Regions from separate parts of the Homo sapiens genome. Here all the other regions are linked to region 2. The links are contacts of gene promoters, found by promoter capture Hi-C in blood cells and fetal thymus (Javierre and others, 2016). All regions are on one chromosome and are shown on one strand. Each heading gives the region's core, a stretch centred on a gene start or on the middle of the fragment in contact. The rest is flanking DNA. Distances are from core to core; before and after follow the strand shown. Region 1 holds the start of MPV17 (mitochondrial inner membrane protein MPV17). Region 2 holds the start of MAPRE3 (microtubule associated protein RP/EB family member 3). Region 3 holds the start of GTF3C2 (general transcription factor IIIC subunit 2). Region 4 overlaps CAD (carbamoyl-phosphate synthetase 2, aspartate transcarbamylase, and dihydroorotase). Region 5 overlaps SLC30A3 (solute carrier family 30 member 3).

The links. The method cuts DNA at HindIII sites, captures the fragments that hold promoters and counts their contacts. A CHiCAGO score of 5 or more calls a contact.
Region 1: a fragment that was not itself captured here is called in contact with the fragment with the promoter of MAPRE3 in region 2 in 2 of 17 cell types (naive B cells and neutrophils); the score reaches 5.3 in naive B cells.
Region 3: a contact is called between the fragment with the promoter of GTF3C2 here and the fragment with the promoter of MAPRE3 in region 2, in 12 of 17 cell types (total B cells, neutrophils, total CD4 T cells and 9 more). The highest score is 23.6, in total B cells.
Region 4: a contact is called between a fragment that was not itself captured here and the fragment with the promoter of MAPRE3 in region 2, in 1 of 17 cell types (naive B cells). The highest score is 5.5, in naive B cells.
Region 5: a contact is called between a fragment that was not itself captured here and the fragment with the promoter of MAPRE3 in region 2, in 5 of 17 cell types (naive B cells, total B cells, naive CD8 T cells and 2 more). The highest score is 8.7, in naive B cells.

The regions. Positions count from the first base shown.
Region 1 is chr2:27,319,816-27,325,720 of GRCh38, forward strand. MPV17 (mitochondrial inner membrane protein MPV17) reads right to left here and starts at 3,282. Exons shown (of 8, transcript NM_002437.5): 1 at 3,237-3,282; 2 at 2,633-2,707. The coding sequence starts at 2,702. RefSeq lists enhancers at 2,677-2,726, 2,737-2,826, 2,837-2,886, 2,937-2,996, 3,119-4,091 and 3 more. The HindIII fragment of the contact is 4,230 bases long and covers 860-5,089 here.
Region 2 is chr2:26,968,113-26,973,468 of GRCh38, forward strand. MAPRE3 (microtubule associated protein RP/EB family member 3) reads left to right here and starts at 2,525. Exons shown (of 7, transcript NM_012326.4): 1 at 2,525-2,690. RefSeq lists a silencer at 2,410-2,739. The HindIII fragment of the contact is 16,247 bases long and covers 1-3,713 here.
Region 3 is chr2:27,352,565-27,358,421 of GRCh38, forward strand. GTF3C2 (general transcription factor IIIC subunit 2) reads right to left here and starts at 4,200. Exons shown (of 19, transcript NM_001035521.3): 1 at 4,175-4,200. It overlaps GTF3C2-AS2 (GTF3C2 antisense RNA 2), which reads left to right and starts at 4,201. Exons shown (of 4, transcript NR_183827.1): 1 at 4,201-4,292; 2 at 5,244-5,338. RefSeq lists enhancers at 3,594-4,207, 3,721-4,000, 4,051-4,390, 4,208-4,821, 4,401-4,530. The HindIII fragment of the contact is 6,500 bases long and covers 1,812-5,857 here.
Region 4 is chr2:27,232,028-27,237,325 of GRCh38, forward strand. It overlaps CAD (carbamoyl-phosphate synthetase 2, aspartate transcarbamylase, and dihydroorotase), which reads left to right. Exons shown (of 44, transcript NM_004341.5): 17 at 1-197; 18 at 421-667; 19 at 1,015-1,113; 20 at 1,285-1,509; 21 at 1,599-1,781; 22 at 1,981-2,199; 23 at 2,491-2,658; 24 at 3,218-3,400; 25 at 3,509-3,613; 26 at 4,257-4,496; 27 at 4,722-4,803. Among named protein-coding and RNA genes, the nearest start is that of CAD, 17 kb to the left of the region's middle. RefSeq lists an enhancer at 1-654. The HindIII fragment of the contact is 1,738 bases long and covers 2,854-4,591 here.
Region 5 is chr2:27,250,426-27,255,782 of GRCh38, forward strand. SLC30A3 (solute carrier family 30 member 3) reads right to left here. Exons shown (of 8, transcript NM_003459.5): 8 at 3,259-5,035. The coding sequence ends at 4,887. Among named protein-coding and RNA genes, the nearest start is that of SLC30A3, 9.9 kb to the right of the region's middle. RefSeq lists an enhancer at 1-621. The HindIII fragment of the contact is 7,629 bases long and covers 1-5,357 here.

The DNA.
Region 1 (5,905 bases), core at 1,725-4,224, 350 kb after region 2:
CTCAGGAGGCTGACGCATGATAATTGCTTGAACCCAGGAGGCGGAGGTTGCAGTGAGCTGATATAGCACCACCACTCTCCAGCCTGGGTAACAGGGTGACACCTTATCTCAAAAAAAAAAAAAAAAGAAAAAGAAAAAAAGGCTGAGCTCAGTGGCTCACACCTGTAACCCCAGCACTTTAGGAGGCCGAGGCGGGTGAATCACGAGGTCAAGTGTCCGAGACCAGCCTGGCCAACATGGTGAAATCCCGTCTCTACTAAAAATAGAAAAAATTAGCTGGGCGTGGTGGCGCATGCCTATAATCCCAGCTGCTGAAGAGGCTGAGGCAGGAGAATCACTTGAACCCGGGAGGCGGAGGTTGCAGTGAGTCGAGATCACGCCACCGCACTCCAGCCCGGGCAACAGTGCAAGACTCCATCTCGAAGAAAAAAAAAAAGAAAAAAAATGTCCAAAACCTTTTCACAGTGATACTCCTATACTGACCCTGTGAGGTCATATAACTAAACTCAAGATTTTTTTTTTGTTGATTTTTTTTTTTGAGATGGAGTTTCGCTCTTGTTGCCCAGGCTGGAGTGCAATGGCACAATCTTGGCTCACCGCAACCTCTGCCTCATGGGTTCAAGTGATTCTCCTGCCTCAGCCTCCCAAGTAGCTGGGATTACAGGCATGCGCCACCATACCCGGCTAATTTTGTATTTTTAGTAGAGACGGGGTTTCACCGTGTTAGCCAGGTTGGTCTCGATCTCCTGACCTCGTGATCTGCCCACCTCGGCGTCCCAAAGTGCTGGGATTACAGGTGTGAGCCACCGCGCCCAGTCCCTAAACTCAAGTTTTAAAAGAGGAAACTAAGGCTCAAAGAAGCTTACTGACTTGTCCTGATTAATGCACCTACTAGGTGCTATGGTTTTAAGATTCAAATCCTGGTCTTCTAAGTCTGAAATCTCTGTACTGTTTTCCAGTGTGATGAGCTATCCCATGGGACCTTAGGAACTACTGTGCTGGGGTCCAAAAATGGCTCAGTGAACTAAAGCCACTTCCACCTTTTATTTGTAGTTTGATCCAAATACAGTGAACAGCAGGAAAGGAAAAGTCTGGATGGTCTGAAAAAGTCTGGGAAAAGTGCTGGGAGGCTACATTTTGCTTCAGGGCTGAGCTGGGACGTCAGCATAGCCTCAGGAAGACTGAGGCTGTGGAGCTGAAGGGCTCCAGCACCAAGAGCCCAGAACTCCAGCCACATGTCGGCACCTAGGCCTCCTTGGAGCTCTAGCTCCTGCCCTTGTCAGCTGCAGATGCCTCAGGTAGGGAAATATAAGGACTCTTTCCCTCCCTATTCTTGATGACCACAAGGGGGAATCTTCCATCTGGCAGTTATGGGCCCTGAGGGAATCTGAGCCTGGGCAAAGGGCCCAGCGTGTCAGTTCCCATCATAGCCACACTGTCCAGCATGAGTCACCACACACGTAGCCAGGTGAGTCATACAGGCTGACGGACGCTGAGGACAGGACAAGAGGTGGTTGGGCACCGGAGACTGGAGAGGGGCCCAGGGAAGGGCCAAAGAATCCATCTCCTGGCCATTCATGCAGTTAAGTTTCTGTGCCGATGCAGGGCTGTTCTGGTCACAGGATCCCTGTTCCACTCTGGCCTTCAGTAGCCCCCAATCCCTTCCAATAGTCCTCTTCTCAGAAGGCCAGTCATCACTAGAATCCTGTTCCCCTTCTCTAAACATGGGCAAGACCTCATCTTAATGTGATCACTCTTTGCACCCCAATGTTCTAAGGCCTTCTGACATTCCCCCTCTAAGACTTACTTATCTTCATGCCATCCTCTTACATTAGCTAACTTGCAAAATGAAGATGGTAACAAATGCAGGTAGGTCACTGCATTACCTCTGTGAGGTTAGTACTCAATCACTGCATTTGGAGTGACTGGTATCTGATCACTCCAAATGGATCAGGATGGAGTGATCAGATACCAATATACTAACCTTGGAGATACATATTTAGGCAGTAAATGATAACAAAAGCAAATGAACGATATAAACAAAACTCAGGAAATTTTGGGTGAATTACGGAGAGGCACTCAAGAGGTCTCAAAGCTGATTACTGACACAGGAGTGTTCAGTTTTAATGCCATTTAAACTGTACATACACATCTTAATCATTCTTTTGTATGTTTCACAATAAAAAATACCAAGAAAAACTGGGGTAAGAGTCTTGATTCAGCACTTATTAGGTGTGATCTAATGTGGACTCAAGTAACCCTCCTAGCTCACACACCTTTGTGGGGGCCCTATGCCATAACGTATATGAAAGTGCTTTGCATACGGTAAAATGTTTTCCAAGTTGAGGCCTCCTGGGGCAATGCCTTTATCCTTCAGGGCTGACTGTTCAGCTTTTTGAGGACTTTGAAATCCTAAAACCCTACTGCACAGCTTGGCCAACTACGCATACCCCTTAAAAACAGCCTTGGGGACCACCCTCCAAAACAGACTGGGGACAGTGTAGGATGAAAGACAGCCAACCCTTCAAGAGAGCCGAATAGAAACAGGAAGTGAGGGTGGTGCAGTGGGGCAAGCCTCTGGCTTCCAAATCAGTCTGCCCTGGTCCCACTCAAGTCCTAGAGGGACACTCACCAGCTGTCAGGACCTGTACTTTCCACGGGTGAGCGGCCAGGGCCCGCTGGTATGCCCGCCAGAGTGCCATGCTTCCTGTCAAGCCAAGAGGAGAGGGGGTCACCCCCACCGTCCCTCTCCACGACTAAGAAGCCGCCTGACATTCCCTTGTGCCCACTCCCTTCCCCTTCCCACTTCCAATGTGACTTAAAGGGGCAGAGGCCACATGAAGGATGCTTCCCAGACAGCTTCCTGTCGCAGGAGTCGCCTTAGACAATTGGGGAAGAGAGAAAGGCTGTGGGAAGCTATGGACTCCTGGTAGCAGCCACCAGCCACCCCAACCTCATTCCTGAAGCCAGACCACCTGGAAGCCTCCGTTCCCGACGGAGACACTCATGAGGACAGCTTTGCTCTGGCTTCTACCCAGAGCTTGGGTGCCTCAAAAGATAGCTTGGTCCGTCTCCAGATTCAGACTTGGTTGGAACCAGTTTGTAACCTTCCTGAGTCCAGCTCCAAACCGAAAATAGGGCCCGTCACTGCCCGGATATAGGATGACCACACACCTTGTGGGCACTCATGGCTTGCGACGCTTTAAGCCAGAGACCGCAGATCACCCGCCACTCACCTGAGCGCCGAGCCTCCCTCCCACGTGACAGGCTGGCCTAGGAACTTCCGCCACAAGTCCCGCCCCTTCCTCCCAGCGTCCTTCGGATTACGCAGCCAGGACAGGAATGGGGGTGGACCGAGCCATGAATACCCGTGGAGAGCGGCCTAACTCGGCCACCCACTCTGTGAGAGACCCCTTTTCCAGCTGGACTGTGCCGGACCCTGGTGTGGGGCCCGCCAGCCATATTTCTCACCTAAGTTCGACCCTCTGCCTCCTCCTGCCCCTTCTCTCCGCGCGAGACCCGGGCCTCTCTCAATCCGGTAGTCTCATTGTTCAGCCCACCCTCCCCGCATAACTGGCCATAACTACGATCCTTGTCTCAGCAATCGTAGTTAGGGAACTATAAGTTATAGTTAAGTGCGTGTTTTGTCTCTAGGTTCTTCACTGGCCTCAACTGTGAGCTCATGAGTGGGTAAAACTGGGGTCGTTCATATTTGTCGTCCTCATAGCAACTATTTCAGTGCTTTGCCGCAAACAGCCACTTAAGAAATACTGCGTATGTATGATTCTTCCACAGAAAGCATTGGAATTAGAACCTCAGAAGACATTAGGTATTGGCTCCCAAACTAACGGGCTGTGCAGCCTTGGTCATGACTAGACTTGATGTTAAGGCTCTGCATCTGTAAAATGAGGGAGGTTACACTATTGACTTTCCAAACTCGGCTCCTCAGTTCTAGGGATTTTTCAGATGTTTGTGTGTGGGGATGAGAGGGGCAGCATTACTACAGCTGCTTCTCCAACTTTTTTTTCCAAGTATATACTTCTCAAAAGACCCATTTTTAACGGGGCCCACAACTGCATGTTTGAAAACCAGTAAGCTAGGTGATTTCTTAATCCCCTTCCAGCTCTAACATTCTAAGAGTCTGTGAATATAGAGCAATATCCTTTCTAGAGCGTTGGAAATGTCTACAATATCCCTGGCAATGGACTTGTCAGGCTGGCAGGCTTTACTTATCTCCAGGGAGCCCACACGTCAGGAGGCACACTCTTTCAGGCTCTCCACCTGCCCAGCTCCACCCCCAATTTACTCAATTCCTTTATGATTAAGGCAGGGAGACTCCTGCCACAAATCCTGGAGAAACAGAGTAAGGAAGCAAGAGAAGTCAATGTCACAAACATTTAACTAAAATGCTATTTGCAAAACAGCATGCTAGAGGAGTGAACTGACAAAAGTAAATGTAATAGGAGACCAAATGTGGTAGGCTGTAAAGTTATATTCTGAAGTTAGACTGAGTTCAAATCCCCAGCACCACCACTTACTAGTTATATGACCTTGACCTTTTACAGACAGCTTACCCTCTCCAACTCTTTTATCATTAAGTAAAATGGCAATACCTACCTCATACAAGTGACACATGCGAAGTGCCTAAAATGGATCAAGTGCTTAATGCTTGTTTATCCTTTTTCCTCCCTTCCCCCTTGGGAACACAAGGGAGGGAAACTATTTTTTACTGGAGAAAACTGGGAAGCTCTTTGGTGAAGGTGGAATTTGAGCCGGGACCTTGAAGGATGAATTGAACTCAGGTGAAGATGGTGGAAAAAGACACTCTGGCGAAGGGAGGAATATGAGAAGAGGAATAAAGGTAGAGAAGTGTATGAACAATGGATAGTATGAAGTGGGTATATTGGGAGGGAGGGTTAGAAAGAGAAAAGGCTTGTTAGAGAAAAAGAACAAGGTCAAGACTAGGGCTGAGACTCAGTTGCAGAAGCAGGGCTGCCAGCACCAATCTACAGCCTCAAGTGTGGATCCCCAGGTCTCATCTTTTCTACCACTGAAAATAGGAAGGGGGCTGCCCTGTAGAATTGAGTAAAGCTTCTCTTCGACAGAAGGCACTTGCGTAACAGCTCAAAAAACAAAACTGGCTCAATGTGAGCTGGATCCCAATAGGGTAGTGCAACACTTGGCTTCTTTGCACTGACATGGGTTGTGGTCTCTGCTGTTGATAGACTTGGGTTTCCTCCAGGTCTATTTTCTCATCTGTACAGGATAGGGGCTGAACTCTTTTTGAGACGGAGTCTCGCTCCGTCACCCAGGCTGGAGTGCAGTGGCAGGATCTCGGCTCACTGCAACCTCTGCATCCCAGGTTCAAATGATTCTTCTGCCTCAGCCTCCTGAGTAGCTGGGATTGCAGGTGTGTGCCATCACACCTGGCTAATTTTTTACATTTTTGGTAGAGACGGGGTTTCACCATACATTGGCCAGGCTGGTCTTGAACTTCTGACCTCAAGTAATCCGCCTGCCTTGGCCTCCCAAAGTGTTGGGATTACAGGCGTGAGCCACCACACCTGGCCAGGACTAAACTTCTTGATCGCTTCTTCTTAAAGGAGATTTTCTGACAGATGATAAAGTCCCTACACTACATATTCAGCCAGTCTAGAATGCCAGAGGGTTTTGTTCCAGGTAGGCACTGATCTCATCTCCACTCTCTCCAAAAAGCAGCTGCCTGTTTTTTTCTATTTCCTGAGGTCATCCAACTATTTCCCTCCAAACCCCAGCCTATACTCCTAGGCATTTCAAGACCATGGTTTGCCTATTTCTCATCACTGGGGTGTGTCCTTGCTTAGGAGGCAGTATCATAGTCACTGTGAGTCTGCAGCATCCCACAAGAGGACTCTAACAAGATGAG
Region 2 (5,356 bases), core at 1,275-3,774:
ATAGAGATAACGAAATGGTTGTTGCTTTAAACCACTGAATTGGAGTGATTCATTTTGTAGCAATAGTTAATGGCACATAGTAAAATGTTAATATGTAGAGAATCTGGGTGAAGGGTATATAGGAACTCTTTGTAGAATGGTCCTCTACCTTGTGTATGACAAAGGGGTGGGGTTACAAGGATCATAGCTTCTTCTCAGGATTACTCAGGACAGTCTACACCACCCAAGTCTATACCTGTAACAATGAAGCTGAGCTGGAACTTCAGAATGGGAAAGCAAGATAAACTGAGCGTGCGACTTCCCTATTGCCTTGGTGACACCCAGATACCCTGCAGATGCAGTTAGAAACAGCTCCAGTTGTCCAACTCTGTGGCTAGAAAAAAGTGTAGCCTGGGTTTTTACTCTCCTAACCCCTTGATTTGTTTTGGGAATTATTGTCTACAAAGAGCTCTCTCCTTTCTGATAATTGCTTTAGGTGGAAGAAGAGAGGATATGCTGTGTCCCCTCTCTTTTCTTACTTACTCTATTTGTAACTTTCTTCTTTTTTCCCCAAGAAAATGGGCTTAGTTGGGGTGCTTTGGCACCAATAGTCCTGCGGCGGAATCTGTGGGAGCTAGACAGGGAGATTTGGAAGAGAATGCTAGGTTGTGAGCTCTTGCTTTTGAGTTGTTTGAAGAGAATGCTGCATCTCTGGCATGTCAACAAGCCCAGCAGAATCCAGTAACGTTCACCAAGAAGGCTTGATTAGAGCTGGTTAGGGGATGATCAGGATGGTTAGGTGTGAAGAGCTTACGCTGATTATGGAGGGTATGGGAGTCACGGGGTTGGTACCCAGTGAGGAAATTTACCTTAGTAGAAACATTTGGGATAGTGTAGAAGAGAGAAGAGCTAGAGGCGAGGATTCAGGAAATAGAGAATGCCAGAGTCTCAATTAACAGGATGGAAAGCTAAGGAGATGAAAGACTTATAATAGTAGCATAGTACTAAAAGACAAACTATGTGTAAAGGTATTAGAAATGGGGACTGGGACTCTGAGGCAGTTAGGCCAGAGAAAAGAAGAAGGAAAAGATTTGTCTTCATTTGATTCAATTACATAAGCATTTCTCAGAATCTGCTATGTGTCACATGCTGTGGTGGATGCTGAGGGAGCTGATGAAAAAGACAGAATTCCTGCCCACCAGGGTCACATAGTCTGGAGACACAGACACGTAAACAAATGACGATAGTGTAAGGTGTGTGTAAGAAAGGAGGAATGTACAGGGTTGGTACAAAGGTGACCTCAAGGCATCCATGGGAATCAGGGCTGAGGGAGGAAGAGCCAGAAGACATCAGCACAAAGAGAACCAAGATGCTGAAGTCACAGGGGGAAAGAACATACTGGAGCCCCGGGCAGAGCAGTGCTGGACAAGGACAGCAAGTGTGGAGAGGAAAGGGAGATCCAGAAGAACCGAGGAGATCCATAACAGCATGCTTGGAGGAGGAAATTCGGGAAAACGAATGGACATGTCAGAGGGAGCTAGTTATGAGGAAGTGGACTGCAAACCAGATAGTGAGCAAGATGAAGAAATGAGGTGTTTATCCTTGCAATGGGAGAGAGACAATAAGGCTGACAAAAACTCAAGTGGTCTGTGGATAGACGATTTCGTTAGCTCGATTTAAGGGTAAAGGGCACACTCTCTGGTAGGAGATGAAAGGGGATGTTTAAAACAGGTAGAAAAAAATTGGGCCGGGCGCGGTGTCTCACGCCTGTAATCCCACCACTTTGGGAAGCCGAGGCAGGTGGATCACCTGAGGTTAGGAGTTCGAGACCAGCCTGGCCGACATGATGAAACCCCTGTCTCTACTAATAATACAAAAACTTTGCCAGGCATTGTGGCGCACGCCTGTAATCCCAGCTACTCGGGAGGCTGAGGCAGGAGAATTGCTTGAACCCAGGAGGCAGAGGTTGCAGTGAGCCAAGATCGCGCCAGTGCACTCTAGCCTGGGCGACAAGAGTGAAACTCCGTCCCAAAAAAAAAGAAAAAAAAATGAATTTGGGAATTAGAGAAAAAGACTGTGATTGGAACCCACACACCAAGAGAGGAGATAAAACCCAGCCTTAGCTCTTCCATGTCGCTGAAAGAGAAGAAAACGTCTCTTTTTCCTTTTCCGTAGCCATAAAAGATGAAAATCCGTCATCCAGCTACTGAAATCAGGTGCACACGGTTGTTCCTCCTGTGATGAGACAGGGCGGAGGGATTGTTACCCTGTTGCCAGGGAAAAAGGAAGGGGCTGTTCCCAGTTGCTATGGTGACGAGGTAGGCGCGTTCCCTCGGTACCGCCGCACACGTCTGAAGCGGTCTCTTCTCCTCGTTGCTACGGCAACGCAGTGGGCCTGTTCCTGTCGCCCCCCGCCTCCCGCCGCAATCGCTAAGGCAAGGTGGAGGTAGGGGCTGTCCTCCCGCGGCTCAGTTGCCTTGGAGACGGCGGGTGCCCTGGCCCCGCCCCGCTCGGACTGACAGCGGCGGCCGCATCGCGCCTGCGCAGTGCCCTCGTCCCCCGCAGTCTCTGTGCGTTGAAGCCGGAGACCGCGGCGGCCTCAGCGAGGACCCTCCGCCCCGGAGCCGCCGGCCGGAGCCGCAGCCTCTGCCGCAGCGCCCCCGCCACCTGTCCCCTCCCCCTCCGCCTCCGCCGGAGCCGCCTCGTGCACTGTGAGTCCGGGCCGAGGCGACGGACGCCGTGGGGCTGAGTCAGCGGGAGGCCAGGGCCCGGGCTGGGGGAGGGGAACCGGGCTCCCCCCGCCCCTGCCTCCCCACCCGCACTCCCGCATCCCGACCGCGCCTTCCCCGCGCCGGTCAACCCCCTCCATCCCTGTCGCCGGGTTCCCTCCGGCCTTGGCGGCCCGGCCTCCCCAGCCACTCCCCCTCCCCTTCCCTCCCCTCCCCTTCCCTCCGTCTCTCCGGGTCCACCTTGAGGCTCCTTCCCCACTAGACGTGGCCACCGCACCTCTGCCCTGGGCTGATATTTTCTCCAAACTACCTCCCGTCCGCCCTTATCCCTTCTCCCTCCTCCTCACTCCTCCTAGGCCTGACATCTCCCGGCCTCTCTGGATCTCCCCAGTGATGTGCCAGAAAAAGAGTGACAGGAGAGCGAGGGGAGACTTGGGGGAGGGGGAACATCGGGCCAGGCCCAGCCTGGGGGCCTCGGGTTTCTTCCCCACACGCTCCTGCCTGGCTGGTTTGGGGAAGCAGGTCTGGACAGTTCTCACTGGCTGCTCAGAGCTTGCAGGGCTTTCCGAATAGATTTGGCTGGGAAGGGTTCAGCCCCATCGTGATCATCTAGCGTTTAATGAACGCGGCTAGTGCCTGGTGGCCTTCTAGTGGGCTGAGCTACTGCCCGGCCGGTGTTGCGGAGCGGGGAGTAGAAGTAGTGGAGGGAAGGGAGAAGAGGTTGCGTTTGGGAGCTCCAAGTTCCTGCGCTTCCGGTGTGGTGTTGTGAATAAGCATCTTGCGGAACTCTTTAAAATGCTTTTTTTTTTTTTTAAATCGCACTACAACCCTGGTATAATGTGAGGTTTGGAAAAAGGCCTGATACCATCCATAGGAAGTGCTTACTGTTTATATATGAAGGGGCTGTGGCAGGACTTGATCTTGGATTCCTGTAAATTAACTAATTGGATAGTAGTGAGTTTTTAACATAACGTGTGCAGAGTTGAGAGGAAGGAGAAAAATCGAAGCTTCTCCATGGTGTAGGTGTGAGGCCTGTACACTGTGCCTCCTCCAGCTGTGTGTCTTTGTGGGGCTGTCACCAGATAGGGGTTCTAGCATATTTGGACAATTCCCTGGGTTATGTTTGCTACCCCTCCACCTGCCCATCTTGCAGTCCCTGTTCTTGGAATAGAAGAGGGTCCCAAACAGTTTTCTTTTTCCAGAAGAACTGAGTTGAAGTCAGAGTTAGTGCCCAGAGCCAGAAACTCTTAATAAACATGTCTCAACTTGAGGGCCCCTAACTACTATATGACCTCATTGTCAGCTTCTTTTTTATTTGGCTTCCAAATTTCAGTGTGCTTTTAGAAAGCACGTGTAAATATAAGCCAGATCTACCGCACAAGAGGCTTTGGGATTTTTACTCCAGATGGTAAAAGGAACGCATGGTCCATTTCTAAAAATCATGGTGAAGGAGCCACTCATTTGGAGTTTCCGGGGTTGCAAACAATGAGAAATAACTATTTCACTCTTTACTTTGCTCAATCATGGCCTATTGGCAGCCTCCTCATAGCCACTCCCTGCCCCCATGCCCATCAGATTAGTTTACAGTAGCCAAGACGGCTGTCGCCCTAGTTTTAAACATAGAGATGAAGTTCAGGAAAACTATAGCCCCCATCCAGCAGGGCAGTTTCTTCTGTTTCGAATGCCAGACTGGGGTTTGGTGGGATGCACCTGCCTGTGGTGCAGTGGGAACTGTGGGGCCTGAGAGTGGCATTCCTTCTGTGTGGTCCTGTGTCACATAGCTCACCAAAATACCCGAGCAGGGCAGGAGCAGACAGCTGTACTGGAGAGCTGCTCCTCCTGGGCTGAGTGTATTTTGGGAATCAGCGATATTACTGGGGTGGAGGGTTGTGAATTAAGGAGGAAGAAAATGTGTCAAGGCTAGATAGATCAGGAGGGTGTAAGTAAAATGTTCCTTTCCAGTTTGCTATGGGATAGTACATTTTCAGAGGATCAGAGTAGTTTTTATATGGATTAATTTGCCTTTGAAATCCATACCAGTGTTTTATGAGATAATGATGGAATGCCTTTTAAACTGCTACTATGAGGAAACAGGACTAATACTTGTCTTATACATTGCCTATCCAGCTGTTGCTGAATGTAATTGTTAAGATCAAGGAGAGGGACATGATTTGAACCAAGTTAGACCTAAATCTATGTAATGGTATTGAGGTTTTGTAGGACTGTATTCTTGATTCTAAGACACACCAGCAATTTACCAATAGCTTTTAGGTAAAATAATCTAATGCTACCAGATCAAAATATATATGCTGATTCCAAGGTGCATCCTCATTTTAGAAACATTAAAACCCTCGGGAAATGGCAAGACTTGAGGGAGGGATTTGTGAATCTTGGAACTGAGAAAGAATGCTATTGATAGTATTCCTGTGTGATGATGCCGTTTCTGACCTACCGTCCTGAGAGTGCATGCATTGTGAAGCTGAGTTTCTTCTAGTCCTTCCTGCACGCCAGCACACATTGTGGGGTTGTATTTGTAAGATGACTGGCTGGAGTTAGGCATAGTAGGAGGCTATTGAACGGAGGAAAGTTCCCATATGAGAATCCAACCCAGGGTCTTAATGTGGTACTCTCCAGAAACTGAGCCAACT
Region 3 (5,857 bases), core at 2,950-5,449, 390 kb after region 2:
GTTTATAATTCTCATCTTCACACATAACTATCCTTCACCCCATATTCCTCCTTCCACTAATATTCTCCTCCTCCTACAGTCAAACTTTTAAGACATAAATAAAAGTATATAGATATAAAAAAAGTTTAAGATATAAATAAAAGCTCCTTGATTATTTTAATTTCCCTGCATCATCCTAAGAAGCATATTGTCCCCCAACTCATCAGTGAAATTAAAATCATCAATAATCACTGTATTATTAATCCAATGGACATTTCTCAGCCTCATTCAAGTTGACCTCTCAGCAGCTCCAACACTACTTTCTTGAAACATTCACTTTTCTTGAGAAGCAATTCAACGAGCAGTAAAATTCCACAGTTTTACAAAATTCCCTCAATTTTTTACAGTTGTCTCATTCACACCTATTTGGCAGCTTTTTTGTTTGCAAACTCACCTCTTTTGTCTTTCTAAAGCATTCAATTTAGTTTTAGTTTGCTTCCTTTACTTTTTTAGAATTGTTTTCACAAAACTTTTACTTCATATAAAATACTATAAAGATAGCAACAAAAGGCCGGGCGCTGTGGCTCATGCCTGTAATCTCAGCACTTTGGGAGACTGAGGTGAGCAGATCATGAGGTCAGGAGATCGAGACCATCCTGGCCAACATGGTGAAACCTCGTTTCTACTAAAAATACAAAAATTAGCTGGGTGTGGCGGCACACCCCTGTAATCCCAGCTACTCAGGAGGCTGAGGCAGGAGAATTGCTTGCAGGAGGTTGCAGTGAGCCAAGATTGCACCACTGCACTCCAGCCTGGCGACAGAGCTAGACTCCGTCTCAAAAAAAAAAAAAAAAGGAGCAAACAACCATCTATGGTTCAACTTAGTTTTTTAGTTTTTTGTTTTTGTTTTTTTGAGACAGAGTCACGCTCTGTCTCCCAGGCTGGAGCGCAGGGGCATGCTCTCTGCTCACCGCTGCCTCCGCCTCTGGGGTTCAAGTGATTCTTCTGCCTCAGCCTCCTGAGTAGCTGGGATTACAGGCATGTGCCACCATGCCCAGCTAAGTTTTGTACTTTTAGTAGAGATGGGATTTCACCATGTTGGCCAGGCTGGTCTCAAACTCCCAACCTCAGGTGATCCACCCACCTCGGCCTCCCAATCAACTTAGTTTTAATAGAAACAATAACTCTTTCATATTAAAATTTATTTCCCCTGTCACCCAGGCTGGAATGCAGTAGTGCGATGATCATGGCTCACTGCACCTTGACCTCCTGGGCCCAAGTGCTCCTCCCCATCTCAGCCTCTCAGGTCACTGGGACCACATGCACACACCAGCAGGCCTAGCTAATTTTTATTTTTTTTGTAGAGACAGGGTCTCAACTATCTTACTCAGACTGGTCTCAAATTCCTGGGCTCAAGTGATCCTCTAGCTTCAACTTCCAAAGTGCTAGGATTACAGGTTTGAGTCACCACACCCAGCCTATAACGTATGTATAAAGACAAAGCAAAACATTAAAAAAAAAAAAAAAAAGGGTGGGAGCCTGGACAACATAACAAAATCCTGTCTCAACAACAACAACAAAAATGTTTAATTAGCTGGGTGTGGTGGCAAATACCTGTAGCTCTAGCTATTCGAGAGGCTGAGGCAGGAGGATCGCCTGAGCCCAGGAGTTCAAGGTTACAGTGAGCTGTGATCATGCCACTCGACTCCAGCCTGGGTGACAGAGCAAGATCTTGTCTCAAAAAAAGTGGGAACCAATACAATGACTCTTGGCAAGCATTCAACTCAACTAGTGGAAGCAGACTGACCACGTCTACAGGAGAAAAACCTTCAAGCTTCAAGCATTTAGAGAGGAAATAAGAGTATGTCAGTTAACATAAGGAGCTAAATGGAAATCAGTTAAGAGAGCTTCTATACAAGTCTTAAGGATTTTCTAGGCCAAGTGCTGTGACTCACGCCTGTAATCCCAGCACTTTGGGAGGCCAAGGCAGATGGATCACTTGAGGTCAGGAGACTAGCCTGGCCAACATGGTGAAACCCCATCTCTACTAAAAATATAAAAATTAGCCCGGCGTGGTGGCAGGCGCCTGTAATCCCATCTACTCGGGAGGCTGAGACAGGAGAATCACTTGAACCCAAGAGGCAGAGGGAGAGGTTGCAGTGAGCCGATATCACGCCACTGCACTCCAGCCTGAGTGACAGAGGAAGATTCCGGTTTTTTTTAAAGGATTTTCTACATCAGTATACATATATTTATCTCATTCTTCCTAATTGCTGCATGGCATTCCATAGAATTAGTTATTTAGACAATCTTCATTTAATGAACAAATGAGTTAAAATACTATTTCAAAAAATACTGCAATAAATATTCTAGTACAAATCTCTTCATTAATTCATCAATAAATTATTTTTCTCGAATAATCATCTGAACATGGAATTACTGTACTACACTGAAGAACATGCACATTTCAAAATTTGATACTACCAAACGGCTCACCAAAATTAAAACTATTTATGTATATTAGTACCCATTTTATCATACCGTTACTGATCTTTTTAATTTTCGCCAATCTGATAGGTGAAAGAATTCTTCCCCACTCTATTTATTTGCACTGATAATAATTGGTGTCAGCAACTTCTTTCTATATATTGGACATCCATATGACTTTTATGAATTGCCTGTACATATAATTTGCCTGGCCGGGCACGGTGGCTCACGCCTGTAATCCCAGCACTTTAGGAGGCCGAGGTGGGCGGATAACGAGGTCACAAGTTCGAGACCAGCCTGACCAACATGGTAAAACCCCGTCTCTACTAAAAATACAAAAGTAGCCGGGCATGGTGGCACGCGCCTGTAATTCCAGCTACTCAGGAGGCTGAGGCAGGAGAATCGCTTGAACCCGGGAGGCGGAGGTTGCAGTGAGCCGAGATCACGCCACTGCACTCCAGCCTGGGCAACAAGAACAAAACTCCGTATCAAAAAAAAAAAAAATACACTTCTCATGGAAGGCAGCAGCAGGATGTAATGGTACAAATTCTGGATACACAGTAAAGGAATAGATGATCAGTAAATTCGTACTGAGTTTCTAAAACCTTCCATTGCACCCCAATCTGTCTGGTTCCCATGCTGCTCCAGGATGCCAGCTTGACCTCCCCAGCCAAGAAAAAATAATGACACAACACTGCACCTTAAGTATGAAATTACTTTGAATACACTGCTTAGCTTAATATATTGTTTCCTAAAGTGTTCCTAGGGTACAACTGGCGGTATGCAAGATGATTTTAATGGTACGAAAACGAACATTTTAATGACTAGTGCTTTTATTTCAACTTACATAAACAATTATAAGTAGCCCATGAAACCCACGGTTTCATTTATATTGCTTAGGTCGAGACTAATGCATTTAAACTTTTTAAGTAAGTCAATTTAAAGAGAACTATTCAGAAAACAATAGTACAATTGATAAGAGATTGCAAAAATAGTGATGGCACGGGATTGACTTAAAATTGTATATGCCTCTGGAACAAAGAGGTTTGTCCATACCCTATACATCCCTCCAACAAAGTGAGTTGCCTCCGACGGAGTTGAAGTCGCCACCTCTGACTTCCCCAACAGGCAGCCAACTTGCCACGGGACAAAAGGACTAGACAGGGAAACACAACTGGCCCTTGGTTACGCCAATGGCGTTGCAGCGCGCGGGGCACAACCCTCGGGGTTAAAGAGCCTCCTCGAGGAAGAGGCTGGGACACAGCTGAAAGAGATTGACCCACAACCACTCTAGGGGCCATCACCTGCCCTTCTTCAGTCCTGGGCGTGAAGGTAGATTTCTCCCCTAGCCTGTGCGGGAGAGGAGCCCTGGTTTTTCTAACAAGGACTACTGTAGGTTCGCCGAGTTCGAGGGACGCTACGTATGCAGCGCCTACGCCCGGACACAGGCTTCCGCGTTACCGACACCGCGTGGGGGAGGAGGGCAAGACCCGAGGCTTGCAGAGATGGGGGGTGCACGGTGGCCACAGTAGGGAAGGTGCGGAGCATGATGGTGCTCTGTAGGAGCGCAGACGCTGAAAGGCGCGCTGCTGTGGCTGGGAGAAGAGCGGAGCCAGGAGTTTGTTCCCAATATCTTAGTGCTATGGCAAAAGAAGGGGGAGGAGTAATTGTGGGGCCCCCCACACACCCGCTGCGGCGATACACTCACCCTCGCCAAAGTCCTTCCGGAAGTCTAAGTTCGAAGATGGCGCCGCCTGTCTGGTCGCGGTCTTATGACGAAATCTTGTTAGCTGCTCTTCACTGACGCCCCCACCCCAGTGCACAAGGTAAACACGTGTGCTTGGTCCGGAGTCGGTGCCGGGCTAGTTTTCTCTTAGACTCTGTATTCCATAATGCAGCGCGGCCAGAGTCACCGAGCCCTCCGAAGCCAGCCGAGTTCCAGGGCGTCTTCAGCGGCGCCAGGGACGCTGCAGGGCCTCATGGGAGTTGCAGTGTCAAAAAGGGGAGATCGACGCCTGCGCGGCCAACGGGATCCCACGCGGCCTCGACGGGAGCCGGGAGTAGGCGGACTCCCAGGCCGGGCTCGCGCTCTGGATCCCTGAATCCGGCCTTTCCGGCCGGACTGCCGCGCCTGTGGCCGGAAGAGCCAGCTAGACCAGAGAGTCTGTACCTGCAACCCTGGCGGCGTCCGAGCCCAAGGCGGAGTCTGGGAGACAAAGAAGTCCTCGCCGCCGGCCGCTGGAGGATTCTGCCAGTAGTGAAGTCAGGGATGGGCCCGAGAGAGCTTGGAAAGAGGACAAGGAAGGGAAGGAGTAGGAGTAGAAAAGCATGACTTTGGCTGGGTATGGTAGCTCCTGTCTGTAATCCCAGCACTTTGGGAGGCCAAGGCGGGGGAGGATCACTTGAGCCCAGGAATTCGATACCAGCCTGGGCAACATAGTGAGACCCCGTTTTTATTTTTATTTTTATTTTTTCCTGAGATGGAGTCTTGCTCTGTCCCCAGGCTGGAGTGCAGTGGCGCGATCTCGGCTCACTGCAAACTCCGCCTCCCGGGTTCAAGCAATTGTCCTGCCTCAGCCTCCCGAGTAGCTGAGATTACAGGCGCCCGCCACCAAGCCCGGATAATTTTTGTCTTTTTAGTAGAGAAGGGGTTTCACTATGTTGGCCAGGCTGGTCTCGAACTCCTGACCTTGTGATACGCCTGCCTCAGCCTCCCAAAGTGCTGGGATTACAGGCATGAGCCACCGCGCCCGGCCTAATTTTTTAATTTTTTCTAGAGATGGGGTCTCGTTATGTTGACCAGGCTGGTCTTGAACACCTGACCTGAAGTGATCCTCTTGCCTCAGCCTCCCATAGTGCTGCGATCACAGGTGTAAGTCACTGAGTTTGGCCATTATTCCATTTCTGTACACAAAAACCTTTCTCATTCTGTGCTATAACTAGTTAGCATTTAATTGGGTGGATGTGGTATAACTAGTGCCTTGTTGATATTGATGCATATTTACATGGTTTTGCTGTTATAAACAATGGTCCCTTGCTATTATAAATCACACTGCTATAAGTAACCTTGCATCTAAATTACTTCAAATGTGTAACTATATGGGTAGGATAATTTCTAGAAGTGGAATTGTGAACCAAAGTTTTAGGTGCATTTGTAATTTTGATTTATAACCAATCTTTTCACTGATCTACTTCTCTGCCTCTAATTTCTACTAGGTGTTTGTTTGTTTGTTTGTTTGTTTTGAGACAGGGTCTTGCTCTGTCACCCAGGCTGGAGGACAGTGGTGCAATCACGGCTCACTGCAGCCTCAACCTGCCACCTCAGCCTCCTGAATAGTTGGGGTGTGTGGCAGGTGTATACCACCACTTCCAGGTTTTTTTGTTGTTGTTG
Region 4 (5,298 bases), core at 2,473-4,972, 270 kb after region 2:
TTGTGGGCTGGTTATTCAGTGGACCGCCTGTATGAGCTCACACGCATCGACCGCTGGTTCCTGCACCGAATGAAGCGTATCATCGCACATGCCCAGCTGCTAGAACAACACCGTGGACAGCCTTTGCCGCCAGACCTGCTGCAACAGGCCAAGTGTCTTGGCTTCTCAGACAAACAGATTGCCCTTGCAGTTCTGAGGTCAGAGGTGGCAATGAGAGCTTCCGGCTGGGAAATGTGGGGCAGAACCTTTGTATCAGTGAGGGACCCTTGGGAGGGAGGAAGGAGAGTGTGGGAGAGCTTTAGAGGCTTCTGACCTTGGTTCCAAGGATATTTCCTCTCATCTGTGCCCTGGGGTCTCAACCCTCTATCAGTCTGTACCCTACTCTCTGGGCCTGTGTTTCAGACCCTTTTTCTATTTTAGCACAGAGCTGGCTGTTCGCAAGCTGCGTCAGGAACTGGGGATCTGTCCAGCAGTGAAACAGATTGACACAGTTGCAGCTGAGTGGCCAGCCCAGACAAATTACCTATACCTAACGTATTGGGGCACCACCCATGACCTCACCTTTCGAACACCTCATGTCCTAGTCCTTGGCTCTGGCGTCTACCGTATTGGCTCTAGCGTTGAATTTGACTGGTGTGCTGTAGGCTGCATCCAGCAGCTCCGAAAGGTCAGAGAGTTCATTTTCTTTCCACTTTCCTTGCTATTCTGTTCATCTCTAGCAATTGCTTGGCACTAATCCTGGCATTTCCTATTAATTGCCGTCCCTTACTTTGGTCATAGAGCTTTGGGGTGGGGGTCCTTTTAGGCCATCTCTCATGCCCCACACGGTATATGAATCTCTTCCCCAACACTTTGTACCTCCTTCCCTCCCAAGGCAGGGGTCCTGTACAGCTCTTTCAGAGGAAGCTGTGCTGGCAGTCTCTGAAGTAGGGGCTTTGGCTTAGTTTCTCCACGATTTTCTCCACGATTTTCCTCCCACCTGACTGCTAAGTACCCTTCCCCTCCCTCTTGCAGATGGGATATAAGACCATCATGGTGAACTATAACCCAGAGACAGTCAGCACCGACTATGACATGTGTGATCGACTCTACTTTGATGAGATCTCTTTTGAGGTGAGGGAGATGGAGGCTTCCTGGTAGCTTGAGTGGCCAGGGTCGAGTAGAACAGCTGGCTGACCTAAGATTCTTTGAAACTTGGTGGCGGCTGAGGGAAGCAGTGAGCAGGAAGGCTCAGATTCCTGCCCTCTTTTGCTGCCACCACTTGTTTCTCCCCCTGCAACGTAGGTGGTGATGGACATCTATGAGCTCGAGAACCCTGAAGGTGTGATCCTATCCATGGGTGGACAGCTGCCCAACAACATGGCCATGGCGTTGCATCGGCAGCAGTGCCGGGTGCTGGGCACCTCCCCTGAAGCCATTGACTCGGCTGAGAACCGTTTCAAGTTTTCCCGGCTCCTTGACACCATTGGTATCAGCCAGCCTCAGTGGAGGGAGCTCAGTGACCTCGAGGTGGGCTGGGACCTGGTGGGTTACCCGGAGGCTGGATGATGCTTGGGGGAAAGTGTGAACAACTCAGCTAAGCTCCCTGCCTCCTGTAGTCTGCTCGCCAATTCTGCCAGACCGTGGGGTACCCCTGTGTGGTGCGCCCCTCCTATGTGCTGAGCGGTGCTGCTATGAATGTGGCCTACACGGATGGAGACCTGGAGCGCTTCCTGAGCAGCGCAGCAGCCGTCTCCAAAGAGCATCCCGTGGTCATCTCCAAGTTCATCCAGGAGGCTAAGGTGGGAGGCTGCAGACAGTGAAGTCTCTGAGGGCATGCTGCCAGCCCTGGAGGAGACTTCCTTCTCTGGTCCAGCAGAATCATAGGCACCAGGGCTGGGAACAGTGGGCTATGTGGGGCTCGTTAAAGGAAGAGACAATCCTAGAGTAAGTGAGAGAAGAAAGTGGCCCTATGTCCCACTGTCTGTGTCCCCCCGCTAGGAGATTGACGTGGATGCCGTGGCCTCTGATGGTGTGGTGGCAGCCATCGCCATCTCTGAGCATGTGGAGAATGCAGGTGTGCATTCAGGTGATGCGACGCTGGTGACCCCCCCACAAGATATCACTGCCAAAACCCTGGAGCGGATCAAAGCCATTGTGCATGCTGTGGGCCAGGAGCTACAGGTCACAGGACCCTTCAATCTGCAGCTCATTGCCAAGGTAATAAGGCTAAAGGAAAGAACTAAAGGGCCACAGCTCTTGCATGTTCTGTGCTGGCCACAGTGCCATGAAGCCCTGCACTGTCTCCTGCCTTCATCCAAGTAGGCAGGGAAGCTGGAGGGAAAGGGCTGTAGCTAGAGCTCATGGTGTTGGGGCTTATGACAGTCAGTGACCCTGAACCCTGCTCAGTCTGATCCCCCAGAGCTGAGGACGGAGAGGAAGAGTCTAGGCCTATAGATAGTGTCAGCAAGGCCAACCTGCAGAAGGCCTGACCAGTCTTCTCTGCCCCAGGATGACCAGCTGAAAGTTATTGAATGCAACGTACGTGTCTCTCGCTCCTTCCCCTTCGTTTCCAAGACACTGGGTGTGGACCTAGTAGCCTTGGCCACGCGGGTCATCATGGGGGAAGAAGTGGAACCTGTGGGGCTAATGACTGGTTCTGGAGTCGTGGGAGTAAAGGTAAGGAATATCGAAACCCTTGGGGTTAGCAGAAAAATAGCGGGAGAGAGTTCACTCACCACACAGAGTTGTCAGTATGTAAACCAGGCACTGACTGCAAGGCATTGCCGGATCGTGGGGGTAATGAGGTGGTCATTGTCCCTTAAGAGCTTACTTTATGGTAATGGGAGGGAAGAGAAGTTGGATCCCCAAAAAAGCTTTGGTATAGAACAGTCCGTGGTAAAACTACATATTCGACCTGTAAACAGAATGCTGCAGGAGTTCAAGAGACAGGAGGTGCTGCTTCCAAAAGGGGTGATCTGGGAAGGCTTGAGCGAAGGGGTGCTATTTGAATTGAGTTTTGAAGGATGGTTAAGGTTTTTTATTTGCAAGGGCACATCCTAAGCAGAAGCTGAGGGATGACCCCAAGTACGTTTGGAAAGCAGGAGGGCACACAGAGAGGGCAGGCTGACCCTGCCATTCAGATGGGATCAAGCACAGGGTACTGTGTCCGTCTCTGCTGGTGAGGGAGGAGGTCCTCTCACACCTTGGCCCTCTCTCTTCCCTCCCGCCCCTTTAGGTGCCTCAGTTCTCCTTCTCCCGCTTGGCGGGTGCTGACGTGGTGTTGGGTGTGGAAATGACCAGTACTGGGGAGGTGGCCGGCTTTGGGGAGAGCCGCTGTGAGGCATACCTCAAGGCCATGCTAAGCACTGGCTTTAAGATCCCCAAGAAGAATATCCTGCTGACCATTGGCAGCTATAAGGTATCAGAATCCAGGAGGGCTTCCCGAGGGCCGTGGCTCCCTGGGCCAGGGCTGACCTTGAAATGGAAGACAGGAAGAAAACAATTTCATCCTTCTGTTTGGTTTCAGAACAAAAGCGAGCTGCTCCCAACTGTGCGGCTACTGGAGAGCCTGGGCTACAGCCTCTATGCCAGTCTCGGCACAGCTGACTTCTACACTGAGCATGGCGTCAAGGTGCAGGAACTCTGGCAACCTACCCCACTGCTGCCCTTCCCCAAGGGGGTGAAAATACTGCACCAAAGAATTATCTGGGCTGGGCACGGTGGCATATACCTGTAGTCCCAGATACTCAGGAGGCTAAGGCAGGAGAATCTCTTGAGCCCAGGAGGTAGAGGCTGCAGTGAGCTGCGAGTGTGCAGTGAGTGCACCACTGCACTCCAGCTTGGGAAACAGTGAGATGCTGTCTCAAAAAAAAAAAAAACAAAGAATTATCTCCTATTCCCCTGCTTTTATTATTACCATTATACTAGTAAGCTATATTCCATGCAGAAAGCAGAATACACAGGAAGCAAAGAGAAAAGTCTCTTAAAATCTCTGTACCACTGTTCTGATATTTTTCCTTCCAGGATTTTCTCTGTGTACATGTGTGTGAGCTCATACTGCACCTAGTCCTTGGTAACCCATCTTACTTAGTGTAGATATCTTTCCTGCCAAGAAATACACTTTGCCAGTATCAAATAGAGGCAGCCCTCAGTGCCCACCCTATGGGTCCTCAGTCTCCTCATCATGGGCTCCTGGGCCAGCTCCTCTCCCTTAAGGCTAGCCTTCCTGACCGCTGCCAGACAGCTTGGCCCTGACCTTGACTCCGGGTTGGCAGGTAACAGCTGTGGACTGGCACTTTGAGGAGGCTGTGGATGGTGAGTGCCCACCACAGCGGAGCATCCTGGAGCAGCTAGCTGAGAAAAACTTTGAGCTGGTGATTAACCTGTCAATGCGTGGAGCTGGGGGCCGGCGTCTCTCTTCCTTTGTCACCAAGGGCTACCGCACCCGACGCTTGGCCGCTGACTTCTCCGTGCCCCTAATCATCGATATCAAGTGCACCAAACTCTTTGTGGAGGTAACTGAGACCCATGTGCTGGGAGGGAGACTGCCAGTGTTGATGGGAAGAAGAAAGAGGGAGGAGTGAGTATGGAACAGCCATGCTAGTAATAAAGCTTTGTGGCTACAGAGGGAGAGATGGTGGGTATAGAGTGTGCAGAGCCTGGTTTATGGGAAAACCACATCTCTCCCTACAACTCCCAGGATCACCCTTCCCTTAAAGCTGACTGCTTTCCACTTGCAGGCCCTAGGCCAGATCGGGCCAGCCCCTCCTTTGAAGGTGCATGTTGACTGTATGACCTCCCAAAAGCTTGTGCGACTGCCGGGTAAGTCTTTGGGGAGAACTTGGCTTCTGAACACTGGCAGCCCCTGGCATAGAGACCTGCAGTGTGGTGAAGGATGGCTGGGGGGCCCACTCTTTGTCCTGGACTGCACAGACTGTGAAGACCCCAGAATGTTTCTCACTCTTTCATTCCTTAATCCACAGTGTCCACAGTGGCCTTGTCTGAGGAATTTTTTTTTTTTTTTTTTTTTTGAGACAGAGTCTTACTCCATCGCCCAGGTTGGAGTGCAGTGGTGTGTGATATCGGCTCACTGCAACCTCCGCCTCCCAGGTTCAAGCGATTTTCCTGCCTCAGCCTCCCAAGTAGCTGGGATTACAGGTGTGTGCTACCACACCAGGCTAATTTTTGTGTTTTTAGTAGAGACGGGGTTTCACCATGTTGGTCAGGTTGGTCTCGAACTCCTGATCTCAGGTGATCTGCCCACCTCGGCCTCCCAAAGTGCTAGGATTACAGGCGTGAGCCACCATGTCCAGCTCA
Region 5 (5,357 bases), core at 1,586-4,085, 280 kb after region 2:
AGGGCTGCTGGAGGGTGGTGCTTATCACCCGGGCTTCCTCTTGACCCTGCCGGCTGGGCCCTGGGCCTTGGCCTTCGCCTCTTAAACGTGGTGCAGGACTCACCCTGGGCCACCCCCAGGTGGGCAGCCTTGGGAGAAGGGCAGGACCTGCCCATGTGCCCATGCTCCTCCGCCCAGTCACTGCAGCACGAAGCCTCTCAGGTCCGCACCCTGCATTCTGGCCCTTTGATCTCCAGTTTCTCCTTTGAATAGCCCTGCAGCTCTCAGCAGGGAAACCCGGCCTGCCTCTCTCTCCCTCCACTCTCCATTTCACCCCTTTCCTGGCTGTCCCTCTTCTCTGGTTCCTCTCTGACCCGAAAGCCCACCCCTCCCCTAGTTAATCAGCTGTGTAAAGAGCTGGGGCTGGGCTGAGGGATGGGCCCTCCCCCACCTGCGTTGCTCTCCCCTGCCTTCCCCTCACCCCTCCCAGGCCCAGTCCCTTCCCCTCGACTCTCCCTCCTCCATCTATCATCAAGGAAGGGCACCCAGGGGAAAGGGACTTCTGGATAAGCGAGTGGAGAAGGAGGATAGGAGGATAATGGGGGAGTGCAGGCAGCTCTGCAGATAAGGATTTCCTGGGCTCCCGGGGATGGTGGCCCAGTGTGAAGGTGGGAGAATGCTCCAGAGACCTGTCTCCTCATCCTCCCGATGCCCGAAGGTGAGTGGAAAGGCAGGATGGCATAGAGAGAGGGCTGGGGACGTCCAGGGGCCAGAACTCAGAACCGAGTGGAACCAGCTGCACGACCATGGGCAGGTGAGCCTGCTTCTCCATCTGTCAGGTGCACAGGATACTGTCCGCACCACAGTGCCTTGCACAAAATAAGCTCAATGATTGCTGCTTCCTGTCCCTGCTGTCAGGGTGCCGGGCCACTCTCTTCTCCTGAAATCTCTCCCCTGCATCCTGGGTTCAACCCAAAAGCTAACTCTTATATACACCTTCTATATACCAGGCACATTCACACCCATGATATCACGTAATCACTATTTTATAATTGAGAAAGCTGAGACGCAGAGAGGTTAACTGTGACTAGAATAATAGTAAAGGCAGAGCAGAACCAGAGGGTCTGACCCCAGAGCCCCAGGACGGGAGTGCCAGCGGCAGCAGGCTGCTGGAAGGGCTGAGGAAAGATTTGCTGAGAAACTCAACTAGGCAAGAGCTTCAAAGGGGCCTGGAGTGGGAATGAGAGCCTGGGCATGTGCTGGCTGACCCTGGGGAAGTCTTTTTCCCTCCCTGAGTCTCCTCCTTCTATGGGCAGAAGATGGACTGGATGCTTGGTGAAGGCATTCACCTGCCCTGAGCATTCCCCTGCAAAGGGACCCAGCATCGCACAGATAGGACAGGCTGTGGCTTAAAGCATTTCATAGGGTGAAAATCGAGTCCTCCTGTTCCCCACCCTCCTTCCCTCTCCTCGATTTCCTCACTCTTCCCCACCCCCATCCTGTCACCTGGGGCCTATAATCAATGAGACGTAAAATGAGAAAGTATCAGGAACCAGCAAAGCATGGCGAGCAGCTGGGGCGGCCTTGCCGCCGGGCGTGATGGACTGCCAGCCCTTCGCTTCGCCAGCCTCCCACACCCTGACGTGGGCAGTGGCGTCTCACCCAGCCTGGGCTAAGGCTCCCAGCTGGACATCAGGGAGGGGGCTACCTCTGATGAGTCCAAAAGCCTCACCTTTAAAAAGGAATGAAATCTATGGTCTTGACATGGAAAGATGAGTCTAGGCTGCATGGTTGAGTCATAAACACAGGTAACACGATCTCACCTATAAGATGACCCCATTTTTGTTATTATGTAGAAATACTGACCCCATACTAGGATTAGCAGTTTTCTCGGAAAGTAAGATTACAGGGGAAACATTCACTTTCTACTTTATATACTTTTCCTTTGTTGTACCCTTAAAACAAGTATATATTGCTTTTATAGTAAAAATAATCTGATAATAAAGATATTTCTATTATGAGGAAGGCTCACAGAAATATGCATGGGCTATTGAAAATGCTCAACGTCCTTGCTTTGGGCTGGGATTTTATCAACATGGTGGGAAGGCCTGAAGCACTAGATCTAAAATCAAAGCACAGAGTCTAATTTTTTTTTTTTTTTTTAAGACAGAGTCTCCCTCTGTCGCCCAGGCTGGAGTGCAGTGGCGCAATCTCAGCTCACTGCAACCTCTGCCTTCCGGGTTCAAGCGATTCTCCCTGCCTCAACCTCCCGAGTAGCCAGGATTACAGGTGCCCACCACCATGCCCAGCTAATTTTTTTTTTTTTGAGACAGAGTTTCACTCTTGTTGCCCAGGCTGGAGTGCACTGATGCAATCTCGGCTCACCGCAACCTCTGCCTCCTGGGTTCAAGCAATTCTTCCGCCTCAGCCTCCTGAGTAGCTGGGATTACAGGCATGCGCCACCACACTGGCTAATTCTTGTATTTTTAGTAGAGACGGGGTTTCTCCATGTTGGTCAGGCTGGTCTCGAACTCCTGACCTCAGGTGATCCACCCACCTCGGCCTCCTGAAGTGCTGGGATTACAGGCATGAACCACTGTGCCCGGCCAAATTTTTGTATTTTTTAGTAGAGACAGGGTTTGACCATGTTTGAGACACAGTCTCACTGTGTTGCCCAGACTGGAGTGCAGTGGCACAATCATGGCTCACTGCAGCCTCGACAACCTGGGCTCAAGTGATTCTCCCCACTTAGCCTCTCAAGTAACTGGGACTACAGGTACACACTACCATGCCCAGCTAATTTTTGTATTTCTTGTACAGACAGGGTTTCACCATGTTGCCCAGGCTGATCTTGAACTCCTGGGGTCAAGTGATCTGCCTGCCTCAGCCTCCCAAAGTGCTGGAATTACAGGCGTGAGCCATCTTGCCTAGCTGATTTTTCTTTTTTTTTCTTTTTTTTTTTTTTTGATGGAGTCTTGCTCTGTCGCTCAGGCTGGAGTGCAGTTGCATGATCATAGTTCATTGCAGCCTCAACCTCCTGGGCTCAAGTGATCCTCCCACCTCAGCCTCCTGAGTAGCTGGAACCACAGACATACACCACCACACGTAGCTAATTTATTTTTATTTTTAATTTTTTTTGTAGAGACAGGGTGTCACTATGTTGACCAGGCTGGTCTTGAACTCCTGGCCTCAAGCGATCCTCCTGCCTCAGCCTCTCAAAGTGCTGGGATGACAGACATGAGCCACCAAACCCAGTGAGTTTGATTTTTTTTTTTTTTTGAGACAAGGTCTTGCTCTGTTGCCCAGGCTGAAGTGCAGTGGCATGATCATGGCTGACTGCTGCCTTGACCTCCTGGGCTCAGGCAATCCTCCTGCCTCAGCCTCCTGAATAGCTGGGACTACAGGTATGCACCACCACACCCAGCTAATTTTTAAATTATTTGTAGAGACAGGGGTTTCCCTAGGTTGCCCAGGCTGGTCTTGAACTCCTGGGCTCAAACAATCCTCCTGCCTCAGCCTCCAAAGGGCTGAGATTACAGGCACAGGCCACTATGTCCAGCTTGAGTTTGATTTTTTTTAAAGAGAAAATCAACAATCCCTTAATGAGCCTGATTTTAAGACTTAATGTGTCAAAATATGCAGTTCTTAAGACAAAGGGGGAATAGGTGTAAAAGAGGTCCTTGGTGTTCACAGCCTAAACCTGGACTCAGGGTTGGCTGCTATCAGGGTTGAGGGGTCCCTACCGCTGGACACCTTAGATGGCCTGAGAACCAAGCCCACATCAGTGCTATGGTCTAGCCATTCTCCCTCAAAGGGACCCAGCCTCCCTCCAGCCAGCCTGAGGCCCACTGGCATGCAGGGACCTCTGAGAACGACTGACTCCCAGGGATTCCTTGGCTCCTTACCTTCCAGCATTCTCCTGCAACCAAGCCCAGGGCACATGGGACTGTCCCTGAGCCAAGGACCCAGGCATGCTGTGAGCCAGGGGAAGGGGAGTAAAGAGACTGGTGGCTTTTACCCTCCATCTGAGGGTGGAGGGGCTGGGAAGGGACAGGAGGTCTGTGGGAGGTCACTCCAGAGGCTGGGAAGGGACAGGAGGGATTCTGTTGTTCTCAAGTGACCTATTTGACTTCCCCCTCCTGAGGAGTCAGCACACAGGCTGAAAGATGCAGTGAGACACAAGTTTATTGGTGGAGCTGCAGCGGAGTCCTCCCTCTTTCAGGGATAGCCAAGGGCACAGCACCAACAGAGGGATGGAGAGATAGACCCCCAAACAGACACATGGATGGAGCAGACTCATAGAAACCATAGCACAGCCACATAGGCACAGAGACACACAGGCCACAGCACCAAGAACACACACACACACACACACACACACACACACACACACACAGACAAAACCACAGGGCTAAGACACACGGACAAAGTGCGGGCTTTGGGGCCCCTGCATAGACAGAGCGAGGGCCATGTGGGGAGGGGGCCCCTACTGACCTCCCCCAGGCATAGGCACACCAACAGCACATAGACAGGCAGATGCCCCCAGCCAGCCAGCCTGCCACACAGACAAATGGACTGCAGGGAAAGGATGTTCGTGGCTCCACATGAACCATGGGGAGATGGCACCACAGGCCTTCAACACACCCTGCCACACTGAGGCCTGGGAGTCCCCGCCCCTGAACTAGTCACATCTATTCCCCTGACTCCCACCCCACTCCCCGCCACACTTTGGTCTTGCCCACTGGGGCTGGGGCTGGGGCTGAGGCTGGGGAAACTGGCAGGTGGTAGGAGGGAGAGAGGAAGGGGTATGGACCTGGCTCGGTCCCGTCTCTGTGATCAGGGCAGCAGATGCTGAGAGTCTGGGGCTGAGCCTCGGCCTGGCAGTGGGGTGAGGGCAGGGCCATGGCTCAGGCTTGGGGGGGTTCCTGGCAGCGCAGGCACTGGGCCATCTCCGGCTGATACTGCTCGACCTGCAGGGTGCAGCTGGAGAATCCAAACCGGGAGTAGAGCCGGGATGAGGCTTCAGCCAGGACGGCTTCAGGGTCAGCGGTGGAGTCTGTGGGAGAGTGATAAGAGGCGGCATCCATCCCGGGGGAGAAAGAACAGGCAGGGACTGAGATAAGGACAGGGAAAGGGGCTGCACAGCATTAAAGCCAGGCGTGAATGGAAGCCTGCTTTTCTTTCTGTATTGTATGAACAGCATAAAAGTGTCAAATCAAATGTTGGAGAGACTCACCCCAATCAACCATGCTAACACACTAAACTCTTTCCAGTCTCCTATTCTCTCCTGTCATTAAGTGTCAACATACAGCTCAACATTTCAGCAGCCATACCACCCGATTTCCCAGGACAATCCAGTTGTTAAATATCTGTCTCAT